Linked DNA regions of Homo sapiens: region 1 is linked to region 2. The links are contacts of gene promoters, found by promoter capture Hi-C in human tissues and cell types (Jung and others, 2019). All regions are on one chromosome and are shown on one strand. Each heading gives the region's core, a stretch centred on a gene start or on the middle of the fragment in contact. The rest is flanking DNA. Distances are from core to core; before and after follow the strand shown. Region 1 overlaps KCTD6 (potassium channel tetramerization domain containing 6). Region 2 holds the start of DNASE1L3 (deoxyribonuclease 1L3).

The links. The method cuts DNA at HindIII sites, captures the fragments that hold promoters and counts their contacts. A contact is called where the count stands out against the background at its distance.
Region 1: a contact is called between a fragment that was not itself captured here and the fragment with the promoter of DNASE1L3 in region 2, in 2 of the 25 tissues and cell types used here (H1 embryonic stem cells and liver).

Annotation. Positions count from the first base shown.
Region 1 is chr3:58,493,643-58,497,507 of GRCh38, reverse strand. The region is part of intron 1 of KCTD6 (potassium channel tetramerization domain containing 6); the gene reads right to left. Among named protein-coding and RNA genes, the nearest start is that of KCTD6, 3.5 kb to the right of the region's middle. The HindIII fragment of the contact is 5,212 bases long and covers 1-3,865 here.
Region 2 is chr3:58,208,999-58,213,140 of GRCh38, reverse strand. DNASE1L3 (deoxyribonuclease 1L3) reads left to right here and starts at 2,169. Exons shown (of 8, transcript NM_004944.4): 1 at 2,169-2,375. The coding sequence starts at 2,235. It overlaps LOC107986091 (a long non-coding RNA gene), which reads left to right. Exons shown (of 3, transcript XR_007095932.1): 3 at 1-132. The HindIII fragment of the contact is 9,412 bases long and covers 1-3,120 here.

The DNA of each region.
Region 1 (3,865 bases), core at 786-3,285, 280 kb before region 2:
TGTAAAGCAAACTGCAGAGCAAATTTCTAAAGCTCTGGCAAGACATGGTAAGAAACATGGACTTATTGGTATTCATCCAGGAAAAGCACTGGCTTTTTTACGTGGTCCTTTAACAGATTCACTTTTCCCACTTTTAGAGGAATCTGGCACAGAATTCCCAGAACAAGCCCTAGCTACAGAAGATCACAAAGGCTCTTTCTCAAAAGGTCACTCAGGCATGTAGAGAACATTTGCATAGCACAGCATGGGCTGAAATCAGAGCCTGAAGCATCTATTTCTCTACCTTGCAAATCCTTCAAAGCACACAACTAAAATGTGGACCAGACTATGGGGCAGTCAGTTTTTATTCTTTACACTCAGCAGTTGGATATAGACAGGCCTCCACATGCTATGGGGTGAGAAATGGAACAAATGTCAAATTCAAGACTGTTATGACAGTCTTTCATTCCTCTGACTTGCTTCACAAATAGTATCCGAAGTAAACAGGACCAAGAAATGGGCTTTGCCAATTTGTCTTGCCAGGATCTGATTCAGTTACTGATAACAACAGATTAGTAACTGAGCAATTTAAAAGGCCACTCATCCAAAAGTTCTGGTAAGATGCTCATCTTTGGCATTTTCCCATCACCCAAAGTATTCATTCTGACAGCCTCAATAATCATTCATTCAGCCAACAATTATTGTGGGTCACCTATGGAGTGGAGGGGGTGCCTATGTGCAATGCGGACACACAGAAAGAGGAAAAAGACAATCTTTGCCCTCATGGAGCTTTCCATCTATAATGGAAGGCAACATGCAATGACTGAAGTACAGAACAGAATTCAAAGTGCTGTATAACAGATGGACCAGCAGAGGCCCGTGAGAGGGGAAAAGCAAGATTTCAAATGGGAAATAGAGGACTTCTGGGAAGAGCCCATTCAGTTGAATCCTTGAAAGAAAATTCGGACAACCTGAGAAGGGATTCTAGAAGGAAGAAACAATTTAATAGACAGGGGCATGAAAGACTTTTTTTCCCCCTACAACATTCCTGATACCAGTAGGCCGAGCAGGGATTACTATCCTCATCTTAAAGATGCAAAACAGAGAAACAAGGCAGATTAAGTGACTAGCTGAGGGCGCCACAGCTGGGAAGTAACTAGATAAGAACTTGCATGTTCTGACTCTTAGTCTAGATTTTTCCATAAATCCCCTCCTAGGGTAGAAATTGAAAGAACAGAATCCAAGAGACAAGAAATTGAAAAAGCTTAACTTTAAACTCTCTATAGCCATCTATTAACCCTATCCATCCAGTAGGGTTTTATTTACAAATTTTACAGTAACTCAGCCTAACTAAACAGTCATAATGGGTTTGTAAAAATTCTCCTGAGGCCCCCCCACCAAAAAAAGGCAGGAACCCATTCAACTAGTGTGAATAACGGTTGCTGTCCTGTCTGTAGTGACATAAAGAACTCCAATCCGTGAATATCCAAATGATTAAATGAGAAACAGAAGATCAAAGACAAGGAAAAAAGCAGACATCAATGTTGCAGCCGTTAACGAAAAGTCTGTCCACTATTAACCCTTTTTTTCTTTTTTACTGCTAAATCAAAACAAGGTAACTTCTTGAGCAGTTATCTAAAAAAAAAAAAAAAAAAATTAGACGATGTCCCTGAATCTGTTCCACAGCAAAAGCAAAAGTTCCGGTACAAAGATGTAATGAAAGCTCACGCTTAATAATTCAGGAAAGCAATTATGGGAATCTACAGCCCATGTTTCTTAAAAACCACCCAAAAGCCTTCCTATACTTGTGTATAAGATACATCAAAATAAATTGAAGCAAAGTTACTATTAGTCACTTCCAATAACAATGAGTAAACTGTCTAAAGAAATCAAATTGTGCATTAAAGAGTTCAAAGGGAAAAAACAGTATTGATTAGTTTAAATTTTATCTCTACCTGCTTCTAAATATCTTCTGTGGAGATGCTTAAATACAGCAAGAAACAAACAAACAAAAAAAAAGCATGAAAAATTCCCTGTTATCCAATAGCTGGATAATGATCGGCTTCTGAATTCTGAATTGACGACCATTAGGAACATCTCTGAAACGATGCAGATGAATGAAATACAATCCCAAAGAATTTCCAGAATAGTTTCAATCTCTTCTACTGAATCATTTTCCAGAGCTACTAACAATTAGAAAATGATTCATTTGCTTTTCATCTTCTCTCCCTTCTGGCACAGTCTCCAGTGGAGGGCTTAATGAGAAGTTAAATGACCACAAGACAGGCAGCAGAAGGAAGATCTTGAAATGGGTATCAAATAGGCCTATTTTACTTGATGAAAGCAAAGAAATATCTAATATTTCAGAAAATCTACCAGGAATGGTAACAATAAAAAATTTTTCCTTTATAGTGACTTTCCTTACTAAAACTAAAGATGGTTTTGAAAGACAGCAAATGCAACCGAGCACAAACAGCTATAAAATTCAAAGAAGCCTCTGACCCTGAAAAATCAGTTCACCTGAAAAGATGTAACCTTTGATGCAAATAAAATTCTTGTGAAAACAACACTGCCCACTCCCCAAAGAATATAAAGCAGTGCTGAAAATTCAACCATGTTTAAGCTTCAAAGGTTATTGTGACTAATGTATAAATTCTGACAGTGTCATGTTAGCAGGTAATTAAGCTTAAGAAAACACATACTGAAGAATTTATAGAAACCTTAAAAGGAAGTATTAATTTTCTAAAGTAGCATATCTGAAGAAATGCATACATAATTCAGTAAGTTAATAACTTAAAAAAATAACCTAAGAACCCTTAAATGCCATTCTCCCTATCACTGCAGAATTGCAATTACAGGCCTAATGGTTATGATGAACTAACTTAACAAAAATATTCTGGGTTTATCATTCCTGCTATAGATTAAGAATTCTCCGGGGCAAAAGTCCTAATCCTATATAACTACCTATATGTTGCAATAAAAACCTCCAACGAATAATAAAAAACTCCAACTACTGACTTCCCAGAGTTTCCAGGCAGCCCTTTAAAAATGCTTTTTTACTGAAACCTTCGTGTCTGGTAGTCAGAAAAGACTCAATAAACTCCCTCTTTCTATACTTACCTTCAAAATTGCCTTGTATTGAGTTTTGCTCTTCTTGAAATGTGGGAGTTTGAAAGCGAAATACTTTTTATAGTAACTAGTTCAGCGACATCTAAAGGAGTCTTTGGGGTTAACATTCACATACAGGCCAGCATAAGTAGCCAGGCATACAAGGATAATGTGATTATGGTTAGATTATCCTTAACCATACCACTGCAGAAATGGATTTTTCTCTACAAGTAATCATTTTCTCTTTCTCCTTTCTCAACCATGTGGTCTAGAAGAGAGAAGCTATAGGTTTAAAAGTGACCTAATATTAAAAAGCTGTCACAAATAGTCACAAAATCATAACATTCCTCTTAACCCTCAGTTTCCGCAAGATAAAACGGGATAATACCACCTTCCCAAAACGGGGTAATTACACCATTTAGGCACAACACAAAGGCAAAAATTGGCCTATAAGAGTAACACATCAGGACAAGGAAAGAGAACAGGTTCCCAGGGAGGTCCTGTAGTTGAATTCTGCTCCGTTACTGATTATGAGACCCTGAGAAAATCACTCTTTATGCCCAGCTTCTTCTTTGGGGAAATGGAGAAAATAAGGGAGATCATGAATATAAAACCATCTGTAAACTAGCAAGTATTAGACAAATGTGAAAACATTAGTGGCAGCAGCATAAACAAAATTTCTAGGTTAACATGAGAAACTTGAGTGTGAACACAAGTAATTTAGAGCATTGGCCTGGAGACGGCAAATATGGAGGAGGCAGCCTCTTAATTTGCTTCA
Region 2 (4,142 bases), core at 920-3,419:
TATGCCTACTATGTACCTGCAAAAATTAAAAATAAAAACTTTGTTAAAAGAAAAAAAAAAAGAAAATGCCATGCTTTTAAGTTCAGCTTACAAAAGTTCTCATTCTTTTTATAAATCCAGCTAGAATTTCCAGATAAAATAAAAGTTGCCCAATTGAATACGAACTACCCCAAATTCAAATCTACCTACTGTTCTATATTTTTATTTGTTAAATCTGCCAATCCTAAACCCAACAAACCTAAATAATTACTTATAAGGGGTTTGTGGCCAATTTATAAACATTTTATACTTTATTTAATATGCCCTATTTTCTTTTAAAAGTTCTTCAATTGTCTGAACTAACAAAAAAGCTACTTTTAAAAAATACTAAATCATTTGAATTCTAATAAAGTAAACAAACAAAACATTGATGATAACCTAAAGTGTTTATAAATGTTCCAGAACTGTATTCAGACAAAGGTTTCAACGTAAAGTCATGAACCTGAATCAAACCCTACCAAGTGCACATTTTATAAGAGAGTTACAAGATTTTCTATATAGTTGGCCCAGCAGCTCTCATTAAGTCCATGAAATACCGCATATTCCATCTTAAAACACACAAAAAGAGTATACCATGGCTCTGAGTCTCTTAAACATTTCTACACTTTAATTCTAAATCTTTTTTCTGGTTGGAAGATGCCCATTCACCAAGAAAGACAATTAACCATTCCCTAGAGCTCCTTTTTTTTTGTTTTTGTATTTTATTGAGATGGAATCTCACTCTGTTGCCCAGGCTGGAGTGCAGTGGTGCAATCTTGGCTCACTGCAGCCTCTGCCTCCCAAGTTCAAGCCATTCTCCTGCCTCAGCCTCCCAAGTAGCTGGGATTATAGGCGCCCACCACCACGCCTGGCTAATTTTTGTATTTTTAGTAGAGACAGGGTTTCACCATGTTGGCCAGGCTGGCCTTGAACTCCTGACCTCAAGTGATCCACCCACCTCAGCCTCCCAAAGTGCTGGGGCTACAGGAGTGAGCCACTGCGCCCGGCCCAGAGCCACCTTTACCAGAGATTCAACCAGGCCTGAGGTCTTAGGTTGCAGACAACAGGGAGATTCATTGCAGCACGAACTCAGGAAACCATTTCCTTCCATGTACTATTTGGGGTTATCTTATAGAATTCCTGGCATGCTTGGCCAGTATGCTGCCTGGATGTATGTTGGGGATATATGTATAATTTTCCCTGTGGCTGTGGCCACAGACCCATCACCACAAGAGGGGTTGGTCCACAGATCCCGATGCTGGCTTGGAGTTATTCTTATTCCCTACCCTTTTCACAGAATTGTCTTTGCCAAAGTCCATTAATATACCTTGATTGGATTTTGCTTTTTTTTTTAATTTTTTTTTGCTTTACAGATCTTCATAGTTTCCTGCCCATATCTCTAAAAGTCATTTTGCTTGAGTTGATATCCTACAGTTCTTACAAGACCTTTCTCTCCCAGGGTCACACAACTCTCGCCAATATTAAATTAATATCAGCTTCAATCACGGGTCTCTCCATGGGTTTCACGGGCTATTTGCTCGCAGAGTCCAGGGACATTTTCCTCATCCATTCCATCAGATCCCCAATTGCTTTCTCTGGCAACACACTCCTAGTATTTGTACGGTAAAGCTGCCTAAAAAAATTAAGTAATTCAAACTACTCTTGACCTTACTTTACACCACCAGGGCAATTAGAGTCACAGTCTGGGTGTGTCTGAGGACAGCAGGCCGCCAAATCCCAGTGATTTAGAGAAAACCGAGCAGAATTTCCCATGCCTCCTGCCTCATTGTCCCCCAGCAGAAGGTTCCGTCACCCCAGGTGCCCTCTAGGGTGGACCACTTCCGAGTTCATCCACTGTCAGGAAAAGGCACATGGCATGCAACCGCAAGACCGATGACTAGATGTCAGAGCTGGCTCCCGGTTGGGATATGAGTGACTTTGTGGAGGATGGCGCCTAAATGAGGCATGCCAATTTCTGCACCAGGGTGACGAACATAAGGGCTCCTTAAAGGCTAGCCCAATGTATCTGTATTTCCTTGGGGATTAAAACCCATGATCTTCAGTTCCTCAGAGAACTGAAAGTTGCAAGGAGAAATCCAGTAATTCCTGTTATCTGCAGGCTTTATAAGTCAGTGGAGCCTGCGGAAGTGGCCAGAATCCAGCACTCCAAGCACTGCTGTCTTCTCACAGAGTCTTGAAGCCAGAGCAGCGCCAGGATGTCACGGGAGCTGGCCCCACTGCTGCTTCTCCTCCTCTCCATCCACAGCGCCCTGGCCATGAGGATCTGCTCCTTCAACGTCAGGTCCTTTGGGGAAAGCAAGCAGGAAGACAAGAATGCCATGGATGTCATTGTGAAGGTGAGCCCCTTTCCTGGGAGGAGGATCCCAGACACCCCTCACACCCTCTCTCCTGTCTGCAGACTTTAAGAGACTCAAGGAACTTAAAGTTGGCCCTTAGGGGGAATGTAGAAGCTGGCTTGGAACAATAACCACTTCAACTCTCTGTACCTCCTGCCGTCATCTTAAAACAGGGGTGATAACAATGGTTCCCTCCAGGGTTGCTGGGGGGACTACAGGAGTTGGCAAATGGAAAGCTCTTAATGTAGTATCTGGCTCATTATACGTTCCAGATAAGGGTTAGCCATTATGATTTTTATTGCTATTTATTGAATGCCTGTATCAGGCACTATAAGCACATGGTTTCACTTCATAATCTTTATGAAGAGGGACTATTACTCCCCATGTAGAGGTGATGAACAAAGAAAGATGAAGTAACCTTATACAGCTACTCCTTTTCACCAGCAAAGCCCAGCTCCTTTCTCTCTCTTTCCTTTTCTTCTTTCTTTCTTTTCTTTCTTTCTCTCTTTCTTTCTTTCTTTTTCTTTCTTCCTTTTTCTTTCTTCCTTTTTCTTTCTTCTTTCTGTCTTTTCTTTCTTCTTCCTTTCTCTTTTTCTTTGTTTCTTTCTTCCTTTCCCTTCCTTACTTTTTTCCTTCCTTCCTTCTCTCTCCCATCCTCATCATCCCTCCCTCTCTTTGTCTTTCTTTCTTCTTCTCCTCCTTCCTTCCTCTCTCCCTCTCCTCTACTTCCCCACTCCTTCCACTTTCGCTTACGCTTTCCTTGGGTGATATACCCAATGTCCGGGGACACTGCTTGCTTTCTCTGGAGTCAATTGACTCCCTTTATCCTACAGGTTAATTAATTTTTGATGCTGGCAACTTAACCCTTTCCCAGGACTCTGGAAAGGTACTTATTACCTTAGGAAACCTGAGACACCATGGTGTGGTAGGGGGGCCAGGAGCCCTGGGTCCAGATTCCACCTACCAGACTTGTGAGCTTGGGAGGCCCTGCCCCTCCCTGAACCACCAGCTCCCCTAGTAAAATGGCGACCACATCCAAATACCACCTGTAGCACTGGCTGGTGAAGAGAACTCAGGGTGCCTGAGGCACCCAGCAGAGCCTGCAGCAAGGTGGGTATTCATGAGCCAGAGCCGCTGCTGTTGCTGTCACTGGGAAGGAGGATTGGAGTGAGGACTGGCAGGCTCTGTTCTTCCTTGGACGAGCCTCTCAGACCCAGGTGGCCCTGCCCTTTGGGAGGTAACCAAGGCCTTCTAGATGGTGTTGTTTAGCCAGGATAGCAATGCCAAGCCTGTGGGAGCCATGACAAGATTGTTCAATGGGAAACCCTGACATGCAAGGCAATGATTTTCCCCACTTCACACATGGCCCGTGGAGCCTGGGTAGCCACTGAGTTCCCATCTCCTTCCTCACTGATGAAACCCGGCTGTCTTTTTGTTCCTTGGTGAGTCCATCATGGGGGCTTGAACTCTGCATCTCCCCTGAGCAGCTGTGTCCTGCAGAGCATGTCCGAAGTCCTTGTCAAGGCTGCCTCACCCTCCCCATCCTACCAAGAGGCCATCCCCAAAACACTGCAAGAGCTACCCTACAGGGCACTCACAGTCACCCGAGAATGCCAGGCATTCAGAATAGGATTATCCCTAGCGCCCATTGACCAAGCACCTCCTATAGGTGCTAATTTTTGTATTTTTAGTAGAGGCGGGTTTCACCATGTTGGCCAGGCTGGTCTCGAACTCCTGACCTCAGGTGATCTGCCCATCTTGGCCTCC